2 separate regions of the Homo sapiens genome follow, and region 2 is linked to region 1. Evidence: promoter capture Hi-C in human tissues and cell types (Jung and others, 2019). All regions are on one chromosome and are shown on one strand. Each heading gives the region's core, a stretch centred on a gene start or on the middle of the fragment in contact. The rest is flanking DNA. Distances are from core to core; before and after follow the strand shown.

Region 1 (6,853 bases), core at 3,058-5,557:
ATTACAACAGACCGAAATTCTTACTGTAGCCTATAGGACGTGAATAATCAAGTCCTGCCCACCTCTCAACTTTCCAGTTCCAGAAAAGCATGATATTCTTTCCTGCCCTCAGGATTAGTGGTCAACCTGAAAAATTTACTTTAAAATCCTTCCTTTCACCCTTTGTTCATCTAGTTGGCTCCTTCTCACCCTTCAAAGCCCAGCTCAAAAGCCCGTTCTGCAGGAATTCTTCCACTGTGGCCCATATCCGGCCAGGCCCTCCCTTATATAATCCCTAGCACCCTTTCTTCTTCACAACCTTTCCACAATTTAAATCAAATAATTGATTAGTTGTTTAATGTCTTCTCAGGAATAAAAATCCTGCAGTTAGAGACTGTGTTAAATGTACAAATGATTAGGCATTAAAAACAAAACAAAACAAAACAAAAAACACTGATAGGACAAGTGGTAACCTCTTCCCTTCCCCAACAGAGTTTCAACAACAACAATAAAATTCCCAACTTGGATCCTTCCTTTGAGCTCCAGATCCAAATACCCAACTGCCTAAAGGACATGTCCACTGACAGATGTCCAACAGACAAACCTGTTTTAAACCAGACACACTCCTCTCTGCTCACCAACTTTTCCTACATTGTCCACCTTGGCTGGAGGTGGTACCATCTACAGTCACCCAAGCCATGGCTCCTTCCAGTTCCCCACTTCCATCACCCAATCCCCAAGGCATGCCTACTTTATCTCACAAACATTTATCAAATTTAGTTCTTCCTCTCCATCTCTGTCACCACTGCCCTAATTTAGGCCCTCTGCATTTCCTGCCTAATTTCTGCAATAGCTTAACTGGTACTTCTACCTCCAGATCTGATCCTATAATTCATCTTTAGACAGCAGCCATAGTGATTAGCATTATGTCTAAGATCTTTCAATGGCTCCCTCATTCACATCCTAAAGTAGCTACTGGGAGTCTGGAGGTCTAATCCAACCTAAAAATGGGATATACTGGGCCCACAAGAGGCCTTTTTAAAACTTTAGTTGACATAATAAAAAGATGGATTCCAGTCTCACTTAAAAAAACGAGCTGTGGCAATTCTGTGCCCACTCTGCTAGAATGTATGCAGAGTAAGCTGAAGCCAAATGGCAGCTGCCCTCTTCAGAATGGGCATGCAATCTGTAGTCCACAACATTCCTCACTACCCCCTCCAGTCCTGAACTTAGCTCACTGTGCTTAATGATATGACTTGCCTTGGCCAACACAGGTCCTTGAGTTTGAGGCCTCTGGCCTCAGGCTCAAGGCCAAGCTCAGGCATGGAAAGCTTGTGGTGACCTGAGTCCCCTCTAACAACCCTGCCAGAACTTGATGTAGCAGGAACACCAATAATTTCCTGCACTGCTGCTGCTCTGTTCCCCTCCTCTTCTTCATCAAGGTAGTACTTATCCATCTTTTAAGACTGAGGCCGAGTGCGGTGGCTCACGCCCGTAATCCCAGAACTTTGGGAGGCTGAGGCGGGAGGATCACCTGAGGTCAGGAGTTCGAGACCAGCCTGATCAACATGGAAAAACCCTGCCTGTACTAAAAATAAAAAATTAGCCAGGCGTGGTGGCACACACCTGTAATCCCAGCTACTCAGGAGGCTGAGGCAGGAGAATCCCCTGAACCCGGGAGGTGGAAGTTGCAGTGAGCCAAGATTGTGCCACTGCACTCCAGCCTGGGCAGCAAAAGCGAAACTTCGTCTCAAAAAAAAAAAAAAAAAGACTGAGGCAGGTCTCTCCTCCAGGAAGCAGGGTTAGGTGACCCCCTTGGTGCTCCAGTAATATCCCAAGTATATCACAGTGTATATGACTATCTACTCATAAATCTGTTATCCGTATTATTGTGTGAACGTCTTGGGAGAAGGGGCTGTGGCTAAAATTCATCTTTGCAACAGCAATGACCAGTCTAACATATGACACACAGTGGTGCTTCAACCATTTGCTCCCTTGTACACTCAAAAGAACCATTTCTTGGCCAGGTGTAGTGGCTCATGCCTGTAATCCCAATACTTTGGGAGGCTGAGGCAGGAGGATGGCTTGAGGCCAGCAGTTAAAGACCAGCCTTGACAATATAGTGAGACCCCTATCTCTACAAAAAAATTTAAAAATTAACTGGTGTGTGGCATGTACCTATAGTCTTCGCTACGCAGGAGACTGAGACTAGAGGATTGCTTGAGCCCAGGAGTTTGAGGCTGCAGTGAGCCATATGACTGTGCCACTGCACTCCAGCCTAGGTAACAGAACAAGACTCTGTCTCAAACAAACAAAAACAAAGAAACAAAATTTCCTGATAGATTTGCAGTACAAATGAAAGAAAGCCCCACTCTCCTTTCCTGTTTCTGACAACCTGAAATGTGGAAAATATAAGTCCACTCTTGGGAGAGAAGGGCTTTTAGACTTCTGGCGGCCCAGGGTCACACAGGAGTAAAATTAGCCTAAAGGTCATGCAGCACTCAAGGAGCAAACTTCTCTTCCTCATGCAGGAAGAAGTACACTTGGCAAAGATCTTTGCAGGTATGTTCACAGTACACTTAGCAAAGATCTATACAGATATGTTCAAGTAATCCAACAATATGCATGCAACTGATTCACTTCCAATATAGTTATATTGACTATTCACTATCGTAGCAGCAGGAAGCCATGAGAGTAGTTCACTGAGTTCTACTTTTTCCCGTTCAGGAAATTAAATAATGGAGATGTGCAGACTATAACTGGCACACAAATTAGGTCACCAACCCAGAAGAATCCAATCCTGGAGGAAATGGCTGCACTAGGTCTTAAAAGATCCAGAAAGATACCCAGCGTGTTCCTCTGAGTAGCTTTTGTGTTGTGGGAAGTATTTGTAGTCTTTGGAACTACTTTCTTTTTCTGGTTAAGGAAATCAAAATATAAGTCTCATCTTTAGAACCTGGACATTATTTCATGCATGTGGAAAATACCCATCCCAAACAGTGCTGGATGAGTCATCTGACCCCAGAGAAGCCGGAGATAATGCCTCTTCCAGACTTCCTGTCTCTCTTTTGCAAGACTTTCCATAATTCTGCCCCTGCATCTCTCCCACATCATCTCCTCTAATTACCAGACGCCAAGTTTTCTAATAGCCTGCCTTGGAAAGAAGAGTTTCCACCCACTCATGCCTCCAGATTCGCCTTTCAAGCACTCCCTAATCACAAGTCCCGCCCCACCTACACACACACTCTCTCTCCCGGAACTGTGACAGGAACTGTAGAGAAATTCAGGAACTCAAGAAGAGAGAAATAGAGGTAGGGTGACTACTGCACGTTTCCCCCTCATTTAAATTTTTTCTTTCTTTTTTTTTTTTAAGGAAGCGGCAGACCCGCTTTCTAAGTTTATGCAGAAACTGAAGCGCTGGCAAGTCCTCCCTGCGGCCTCAGGGGTGTGGCCCACTGTGGCTGCATCCGGACAGGAAGAGTCGAATCCCAAAGATGCTGCTAGATGTGCCGAGAGATTCCTGATCCAGCCAAAACATGTCAGAGCAGAATGAGGGCCACGGCGTCGGGCATGGTGACCCTCAGTAACAGTCCGAGCGCTCGGACCCGAGGGCCGTCCCATGCGCAATCCTGACGGCTCTTGCCTGCAGCCCAGGTCGGGCCGGAGGAGGGGCCGCTCCCCGCTCCCCGGCTGTAACAGACAAAAGGCTCAGGGAGGGTATCAGGGGACCCGGTGCTGACCCGGCAGAGGCAGGGTGAACAAGCCCGGGGTCAAGCGAAGCCGCACGACGGCCCTGACGGCCCGAGACGTGCCACGCCTGGGTCCCGACACTCCACTTACGTCGTTGACTGTCTCTAACCAGAGCCCGAGCTCAGGGACCGCGCGCACAGCCGCCGGGGTCCAGCACAGGAGGCAGAGGGCGACGCGCAGCAGCGGGGCCCGGGCGGGAAAGCAGCGGCGGCGGCGTGGCAGGAGCCCGGCTACCGAGCGGCAGGCGGCGACCATCTTGACCAGGAAGCTGCACCTGGCGCTCCGAGACGCCTGCCACACCCGCACCTGGTGCAGCACCGCCCCAGGCAGGCGGGTCCGAATCCGGGACGCGGGGCTCGGACTCGGGTGTGGAGGAGGGGCTCGCGCTTGGGCCTGGGCGGAGAGGCGCCGTGCAGTTCTGGGAAACCCGGCCAGGACCGGGAGGCAGGGCTTAGGGCTCTGAGCCGGGCCCGAGCGTGCAGCTGGGAGATGCCTGGAAGGCAGAGATAGGAGCCAGGATGTGGAGTTGGCGGCGAGACGTGGAGGCTGGGCTCAGGGCCTAGCGTGGGCGTGAAGATAGAAGAGGAGCCGGAACGTGCAAGGGAGGGCTGGCAGCCCGAGCGCGGAGGCGGGGCCGGGTAGGGAGGCGCCGCCGGAGTGTGGAGACGAGGCGGGGCTCGGGAGTGTGGGGGCGGGGTGGGAGGCGTGGCTCGGGGCCAAGCTGGGTGTGGGGACAGGGCAGGGTTGGAGGCGGGCTCGGGACTGTGGAGGCGGGGCGGGGCTCGGGACCAGGGCGGAGTGCGGAGGCAGGGTGCCCCAGGAAGGAAGAGCTTGGGGCCAGGCCGAGCGTGGAGGCGGGGCCGTGTGGAGGCGGGGCCGTGTGGAGGCGGGGCCGTGTGGAGGCGGGGCCGTGTGGAGGCGGGGCCGTGTGGAGGCGGGGCCGTGTGGAGGCGGGGCCGTGTGGAGGCGGGGCCGTGTGGAGGCGGGGCCGTGTGGAGGCGGGGCCGTGTGGAGGCGGGGCGGGGCTCGGGACCAGGCCGGAGTGCGGAGACAGAGTGCCCCAGGAAGGAAGAGCTTGGGGCCAGGCCGAGCGTGGAGGCGGGGCCGCGTGGAGGCGGGGCCGTGTGGTGGCGGGGCCGTGTGGAGGCGGGGCGGGGCTCGGGACCAGGCCGGAGTGCGGAGACAGAGTGCCCCAGGAAGGAAGAGCTTGGGGCCAGGCCGAGCGTGGAGGCGGGGCCGCGTGGAGGCGGGGCCGCGTGGAGGCGGGGCCGGGATTTGGAGGCAAGACCCGGCGGGGAGGCGGAGCCTGAGCGTAAAGGCGGGGCTGGTCAGGGAGATGGGGTCGGAGTGGGGAGGCGGAGTTGAGGACCAGGCAGTAGTGTGGAGACGGGGCTGGACGAGAAGGGCTTGGGGTTAGGCCGTAGTGGGGAGGCCAGGTTGGGCGAGGAAGCAGGGCTTGGAGCAAGCCCTAGTACGGAGACGGGACTGGGCGGGGAGGCGTGGCCTGAGTGAGGAGACGGGCCTGAGTGGGGAGGCGGGGCCTGAGTGGGGAGGCGGGGCCTGTCTGGGAGATGAGGCGCAGTGGGGAGGCGGGGCTCGCCGCCAGCGAGCGCGAGTGTCAAGGTCCTGGAGTCGAATGCCTAGTAAGTGCTACGGTTGGAGTGCAGTCTAGAGTTCTGTTCCCAGGGTGTCTCCATTTCTTGCGTCTTCTACACTTACCCCTGCCTCGACCCTCTCAGCTGTATGGAAACCGTTCTTTAAATTCAGGGAATGTGCCAGGAAAGTGCTTTGAGGCCAAGGCCAGTTGAACACAAGGCATTGTGTTGTGAAGGTTAACGTTAATAGGACAGTTAATACTTTTCAGAACAAGTAGTTACTTGACTGGCTTAAAGCTCAGAGGGGTCAGGGCTTGGATCCGTCTTATTGTGTACCTTCCCTTGCATTTTCGGCTGTAAGCTGAATACATGTTTTGCTGTCAAAGAGAATTAGTTCATTCATTATCAAATGTAAATAATATCCAGCAAGGGAATAGAATCCTGTGCTAATATTGTTATTAACGTAGAATAAGATCGATTTATAGTCCAAAGGCCTTGGCTGCTTTACCAGTCACCAGTAATTATTGAGGACCTACTATACACTAGAGATTGCATGTGCATCTTCCCAGTAAGCAACGTGATCAGTTCTGTTTAGGTCAGAATAACTGTAACAGGACCACAGGGGAACATCCACCAGAGATTTAGGAAGTAAGTGAGGGACAGAAGGAGAGAACAATACATGAAATTTAAGTTCTACAAGAAGAGTTAAGGGCGAGTTACCTGTGGGAGTGAGGGGTAAGTCTGAAATCGTTTTAGTTACGAGAGAACTGGAGGAATGGAAAGATCTTCCAGATGACTGGATGTTGGTGTGAGACGGAGAGTGGCAAAGCTGGGAATATTTAAACAGTACCAAAACATACAGGCATTCCTAAATTAAGTTAGGCAGATGGCACCTTTAGTTAAGAACACTGGAGAGGCAATGATTTTTTGTTTTGTTTTGTTTTTGAGACTGAGTCGCGCTCTGTCGCCCAGGCTGGAGTGCACTGGCGCGAACTCGGCTCACTGCAAGCTCCGCTTTCCTGGTTCACGCCATTCTCCTGCCTCAGCCTCCTGAGTAGCTGGGATTACAGGCGCCAGCCACCACGCCAGGCTAATTTTTTTATATTTTTTAGTAGAGACTGGGTTTCACCGTGTTAGCCAGGATGGTCTCGATCTCTTGACCTCATGATCCGCCTGCCTCGGCCTCCCAAAGTGCTGGGATTACAGGCGTGAGCCACCGCGCCCGGCCCCAATGATGGTTTTTAAGTAAGGATGAGCTGATCAGAAAGATCGTGTTGGTTGTCAAATTGGGAAACAGGAGCATAGGAGAGCCAGGGTGACACCATTTTAAAAATAACTCCATCTTAAAACTAGCAAGGTACATTTCTTGCCAGTCACCACCCATGGTCGTAAGATGTTTACAGTGGCTGGGCACGCCTGTAATCCCAGCACTTTGGGAGGTCAAGGCGGGTGGATAGTTTGAGCTCAGGAGTTTGAGACCAGCCTGGACAACATGGCGAAATCCTGTCTCTACACGAAATACAAAAATT
Region 2 (6,853 bases), core at 3,021-5,520, 180 kb after region 1:
GTATATGTGACTCAGATTTTATCTGTTCATTGTTTTACCTATCCTGCAAGTATTTTTTTTTTGGTTGTTCTTTTTATTTTTTCATTTATTCTTTTTGTTTTTTAATAGAGATGGGGGTCTCACTATGTTGTCCAGGCTGGTCTTGAACCCCTGGGCTCTAGTGATCCTCCTGGCTTGGCCTCCTAAAGTGTTGAGATTACAGGCGTGAGCCACTGTGCCTGGTCTTCTGCAAGTATTTAGTCTCACTCTGTTTCAGCCATTATGCTGGGGCTACAAAGGTGAATGTAGTTTCTGCCATTGAAGGACTCATAGCCTAGAAAGGAGAACAAACAGATCACCTGAAATGCTGTATTCTGAATGCTGTATAATAACTACCTGTCCACAGAGTGATGAGAGCCCAAAGGACTGAGTGCCAAAGGGAGGGTTTTTCAAAGAAGATGCTATTTGTGTTATAAAATGGTGGCAGAAGGGCATTCTAGGCAGAGGAAATCACAGCAAAAAGAATTATGGAAAAAGATGACTTTTTAAACTTCAGAATGGCTGTACACGAAGTGTGGGTGTGGAGAGATGCAAGTGGATGCTGGCAGTATACAGACCAAAGGGCCTTGTATATAAACCAAGGAATTTGGATTTTAAACTGTGTGCTGAAGGGAGCCTGCCAAGGATTTTAAAATGGAAGCGATCAATTTTGTGTTTTGAGAAGAGATTGCTTTGTTAGCAATATATATATAGGATTGACTGGAGAGGAGGGAGACTGTTGTCAGGGGCACTATTTTGTGACTGTTCAGGTAAAAGATTGGTGCCTTGGCAAAGAAGGGGTGATAAAGCAGAGGGAGATGTGGAAGGGGTTAGTGATCTCTTAGATATCAGGGATAAAAGAGATGTTAAAATATTTACTTTTAGAGGCTGAGAGGATGGGATTTCATCAAAGGAAGTTGAGACTGTAATCGGTGCATTGTAGATTTTGGACATTTCAGGTTGGAGCACAGCTCTCATGCATGGTTTTCTTCCTGAATTTTCATTTCTTAACCATTAAAATCTCCCACAACTCAACAATAAAACAAACTACCCAATTAAAAAATTGGGCAGAAGGACTTAAATGGACATTTTTCTAAAGATGCACACATGGTCAGTAAGCACATGAAAAGATGCTCAGCTTCGCTAATCATTAGGCAAATGCAGATTACAACCACAATGAGATACCACTTTACTAGGTTGGCTGTTATTAAAGAAACATAACAAATGTTGGTGAGGATGTCCAGAAATTGGAACTCCTGTGCATTGCTGATGGGAATGTAACATAGCTGCTGTGGAAAAGTTTGGCGATTTCTCAAAAAGTTACACGTGTAGCCAGGCATGGTGGTGCATGCCTGTACTCCCAAGCTGTTCAGGAGACTGAGGCAGGGGGGTCATGTGAACCCAGGAGTTCTAGGCTGCTGCGAGCTAGAATCATGCCTTGCATTGCAGTTTGGGTGACAGAGTGAGACCCCATCTCTTGAAAGAAAAGTTATACTTAGAATTACCATTATGATCCAGCAGTTCCAGTTCTAGGTATATGCACAATTGAATTGAGAACAGGGATTCACAGATACTTGTACACCAGTGTTTTCAGCAGCATTATTTATGATAGCCAAAAGGTAGAAACAACCCATGTCCATTGACAGATGAATGGATAAACAAATGTGGTATATGCTAACAGTGGAATATTGTTTAGCTTTAAAAAGGGATAAAATTCTGATACATGTCATAACATGGATGAACCTTGAAAACATTATGTTAAGTGAAATAAAATAGATATAAAAGGACAAATGTACAGTTTCACTTACATGAGATACCTAGCACAGGCCCTTTCATAGGGAAAGTGGAATAGAGGTTACCAGAGCTCAGGGCATTGGGAAATGGGGAGTATTGTTTAATGGGCACGGAGTTTCTGTTTGAGATGAGGAAAAAGTTCTGGAAATGTGCAGTATTGTACAAGCTCACAAATTGTACTAAGCTCGTCAATTTAATGTTAATGCTACTGAATTGTCTACTTAAAAATTGTTAAAATGTTAATTTTCATATTGTGTGTATTTGACCACAGTTTAAAAAAAAACACAAAATGCTGTTAAATAATAAGTGATTGCCAGGTATGTCAGTTAAAGTTTAATAGCTTTTCCTAGTTTATATTTTGTAAGATGGGCTTTTAAGAAAGGGAGGAGTTAGTTTTTCTAAAGACTTTTTCAAAAGTCAGTCTAGAGAGAGTCTAAGATCAGTTGTTTAATCTGGAGATTATAAAGTTTGAATAATCTTTAGTTTTGTAGAGGATATAGGGTTTAGTATGGTTTGAGCTACTATTTGAATTTTTGCTGCAAAGTTTCTATCTGGTAGATTTTTTGATTCTTGTCTTCTCTTTTTGTAAAATTTATTTTTTTAATTTAAAATTTTAATTCCTATGGATCTTTTCATAAAATTTAATTGTAAACATATTTTGCCTTTCCTTATCATATTTATCATTTATTACTCTAATTTATTTTTTCTTATTCTTTTTGTTCCCATGATTGTACATGTTGAGCTGAGGAGGCAAAGTTATTACGTAGATGCTATTATTATTATTTAGATGCCATTAGTTAATAGATGATTATTTAGATATAATTTTCTTAGGTAAGCATTTTGTTTTGATTTTAGGCATTGTGGTGTGACTTCATTATATCACAGGATAAGTCTGAAAAGGCCTACAGTAAGTTTCTTTTTGAAATTTTATTTTTCTTATGATGATTCCAAATATTTATCTCATTGTATTTTTCATTCAAATGAAGTAGCCACTAGTAATAGTGGTTTACCATAAGCATCTTTATATTGTGCATTAAATAATTTGTGCTGTTAGGATTGAACTCCTTTGAGGGAAAAAACACATAAGTCTTGTTGTACCCTTTCTTTTCAGGTAGCAATGAAGTAGAAAAATGCATATGTATATTGCAAAGCTCATGTATTAACATGCATAGCATAGAAGGAAAGGATTACATAGCTTCATTACCATTTCAGGTAAACAAGTGTTTCAAATTTTGGGGGGGTTTTGTTGGAGAACATTTTTGAATTAATTGGTTTTAGAGGCATGTCTTATGTCTCATGTTTCGTAGTAGTCAAAAATGTTATTTTTACTCAAAATAACTAAATTTTGGCAGCTTTAGTGGCTTACCATTTTTCTGTACTTCACAAGAAAATAAGTTATTTAGTGAAGTAAATTAGGAAGTCTTCTGTGGTATGTGTTTGTTGGTTTAAATGATACCTAAGAACTTTTGGTTATATTAAATAAGGCATATGAATAACACCAGTCTTTTTTTGTTACTCATCGTCTTTTTAATGCCTAGGGCTATTGTTAACACATTGTCATTTTGTTACTGATCCTGGCCAGTGGCAGGAATTTCACATTGAACAACTCCTCTTTATTAGATTTGATTTTATCTTAGAGTTGCTTATTTGTATTACTTTTTAAGAAAATACCGTATTTAATGATTATGTTACTTTGTAAAGCTATTACTAAATTGGAAAATAAAACATTCTGTAATGTTTCTTTAAAACATTTTATAAAGGGGTAGGTTCTCTTACTTCTATCTTTTCCCACCCTTTTACCTGAAAGGTTGCAAATGTTTGGCCCACTAAATATGGATTGCTGTTTGAACGAAGCGCTTCTTCACATGAAGTACCTCCAGGTTCACCCAGGTATTCATTTTATTCACTTCAGAATATTACTGCTTGGGATTTGTGTGTTTGTGTTGGTTCTGAGGTTTATCTAAAAGTTTGAGATGATGATAATTTTCATGTTGACAGCATAGATATATGCCATTTTCTCTCATCTCAGTACAAGTTGAGTATCCCTGATCCAAAAATCTGAAATTCTCCAAAATCTGCAACTTGTTGAGCTCCAGCATGACACTCAAAGGAAATGCTTATTGGAGCATTTCAGGTTTTGGATTCTCAAATTAGGGTTGCTGTCATCAAAAAGATATGTCATGATCAAGTGGGTTTTGTCTCAGGGATGCAGGGATGGTTTAACATACACAAGTCAATAAATGTGACACATCACATAAACAATTAAAAACCATATGATCATCTCAATAGATGCAGAAAAAAGCATTGGATAAAATTCAGCATCCCTTGATGATAAAAACAAACTAGGCATAGAAGGGACTTACCACAAATTAATAAAAGTCATATACAACAAACCCACAGCCAACATCATACTGAATGGGGAAAAGTTGAAAGCATTCCCCCTGAGAACTGGAAGAAGACTAAGATGCCTACTTTCACTATTTCTATTCAGCATAGTACTGGAAGTTCTGGCCAGAGCAATCAGGCAAGTGAAAGAAATAAAGGACATCCAGATTTGAAAAGAGGAAGTCATACTATCACTATTTGCTGATAATATGATTATATACCTAGAAAACCCTATAGACTCCTCCAAAAGACCCCTAGATTTGATAAATAAATTCAGTAAAGTCTCAGATTACAAAATCAATGTACACAGATCAATAGCACCGCTATACAGCAACAATGACAAAGCTGAAAATCAAATCAAGAACGCAGTCTCTTTTTTTTTGAGACGGGGTTTTGCTCTTGTTGCCCAGTCTGGAGTGCAGTGGCATGATCTCGGCTCACCACAACCTCTGCCTCCCAGGTTCAAGCGATTCTCCTGCTTCAGCCTCCTGAGTAACTGGGATTACAGGCATGCACCACCACGCCTGGCTAATTTTTTGTATTTTTAGTAGAGATGGGGTTTCTCCATGTTAGTCATGCTGGTCTCGAACTCCCGACCTCAGGTGATCCACCCACCTTGGCCTCCCAAAGTGCTGGGATTATAGGCATGAGCCACCGCACCTGGCCAAAAATTCAATCCCTTTTATAAGAGCAGCAAAGAGCCAAAAACAAAAACCTATGAATATGCTTAACCAAGGAGGTGAATCATCTCTATAAGGAGAACTACAAAACACTGCTGAAAGAAATCACAGATGACACAAACAAATGGTAACACATCCCATGATCATGGATTTGAAGAATCCATATTGTGAAAATGATCATCCTGCCAAAAGCAATCTATAGATTTCACCATAATTCTCATCAAAATAAGATCTTTTTTTTTATAGAGTTAGAAAAAACAATTCTAAAATTCATGTGGAACCAAAAGAGCCCAAAATAGCCAAAACAATCCTAAGCAAAAAGAACAAGTATGTAGCCATCACATATTCTACAAGGTTATAATTAGCAAAACAGCATGGTACTGGTATAAAAGTAGGCACATAGACCAATGGAACAGAATAGGGAAACCAGAAATAAAGCCAAATACTTGTAATCAAGTATTTGATCTTTGACAAACAAGCTTACAAAAACATAAATTGGGGGAAAGGCATCCTATTTAGTAAATGGTGCTGGGAAAACTGATACCTTTTTTAGAAGAATGAAATTGGGTTTTTTTTATCTCTCACCTTATACAAAAGTCAGTTCAAGAGGGATGAAAGGCTTTAAGCCCTGAAACCATAAAAATTCTAGAAGATCACCTTGGAAAAACTCTTCTGGACATTGGCCTAGGCAAGGAATTTATGACTAAAACACCAGAAGCAAATGCAACAAAAACAATAAATAAATGGGACCTAATTAAAATAAAAAGCTTCTGCACAGCAAAAGAAATGTCAGAATAGACAGATAGTTCACACAGTGGGAGAAAATATTTGCAAACTATGCATCCAACAAAGCACTAGTATCCAGAATATATAAGGAACTCAGATCAGCAAGACAGAAGCTCAAAAAGTGGGTAAAGGACATGAATAGACAGTTCTCAAAAGAAGATACACAAATGGCCAACAAACATGAAACTGCTCAATATCACTAATGATCAGAGAAACACAAATTAAAACCACAGTGAGATCTCACCTTACTCTTTAAGGAATGGCCATTATTAAAGAGTCAGAAAAACAATAGATGTTGGCATGGATGTGGTGGAAGGGGAATGCTTATACACTGCTGGTGGGAACATAATTAGTATGACATCTATGGAAAACAGTATGGAGATTCCTTAAAGAACTAAAAGTACGTCTACCATTCAATCTAGCAGTCCCATTACTGGGTATCTACCCAAAGGAAATAAAAGTCATTATGTGAAAAAGATACATGCACATGTATGTTTATTGCAACACAATTCACAATTGCAAAGATAAGGAAGCAGCCTAAGTGCCCATTGACCAATGAGTGAATAAAGAAAATGTATATATACACCATGGAATACTAATCAGCCATAACGAGGAAATGAAATAATGTCTTTTGCAGCAAGCTGGATGGAACTGGAGGCCATGATTCTAAGTGAAGTAACCCAGGAATGGAAAACCAAATACTGCATGTTCTCACTTCCAAGTGAGAGCTAAGCAAGGAGTATGCAGAGGCTATATACAGAGTGTTATGATGGACTTTGGAGACTCAGAAGGAGGAGGGTGGGAAGAAGGTGTGGGATAAACAAACTACATATTGCATACAACATACACTACACAGGTGACAGGTGCACTAAAATCTCAGAATTCACCACTACATAATTCTGTGTCACCAAAAGCCACTTGTACCCCCAAAAGAATTAGGGTTGCTCAACCGTTAGTGTAAGGTAAATAATCCAAAACACTTAGGGTCCCAAGTATTTCAGATAAGGGATACTCAGCCTGTATGTACACTCATGAACTCTACGCACTTGGCACTTAATTAGCCTTTTTTCCCAATCTAAGTGGTAAAATTGAATATGCAAATAAATGGCTTCAAAAAAGATTTGGCCGGGCGCGGTGGCCCACGTCTGTAATCCCAGCACTTTTGGGAGGCCGAGGCGAGTGGATCACCT

Evidence for each region. Contacts are between HindIII fragments. The study calls those that stand out against the background at their distance.
Region 2: a contact is called between a fragment that was not itself captured here and the fragment with the promoter of TMEM87B in region 1, in 1 of the 25 tissues and cell types used here (spleen).

Annotation. Positions count from the first base shown.
Region 1 is chr2:112,052,723-112,059,575 of GRCh38, reverse strand. It overlaps TMEM87B (transmembrane protein 87B), which reads right to left and starts at 4,307. Exons shown (of 19, transcript NM_032824.3): 1 at 3,820-4,307. The coding sequence starts at 3,984. RefSeq lists enhancers at 3,166-3,505, 3,536-3,605 and silencers at 4,336-5,065, 5,266-5,315. The HindIII fragment of the contact is 9,449 bases long and covers 1-6,853 here.
Region 2 is chr2:111,869,479-111,876,331 of GRCh38, reverse strand. ANAPC1 (anaphase promoting complex subunit 1) reads left to right here. Exons shown (of 48, transcript NM_022662.4): 4 at 2,668-2,719; 5 at 2,924-3,024; 6 at 3,620-3,702. Among named protein-coding and RNA genes, the nearest start is that of ANAPC1, 11 kb to the left of the region's middle. The HindIII fragment of the contact is 4,344 bases long and covers 2,099-6,442 here.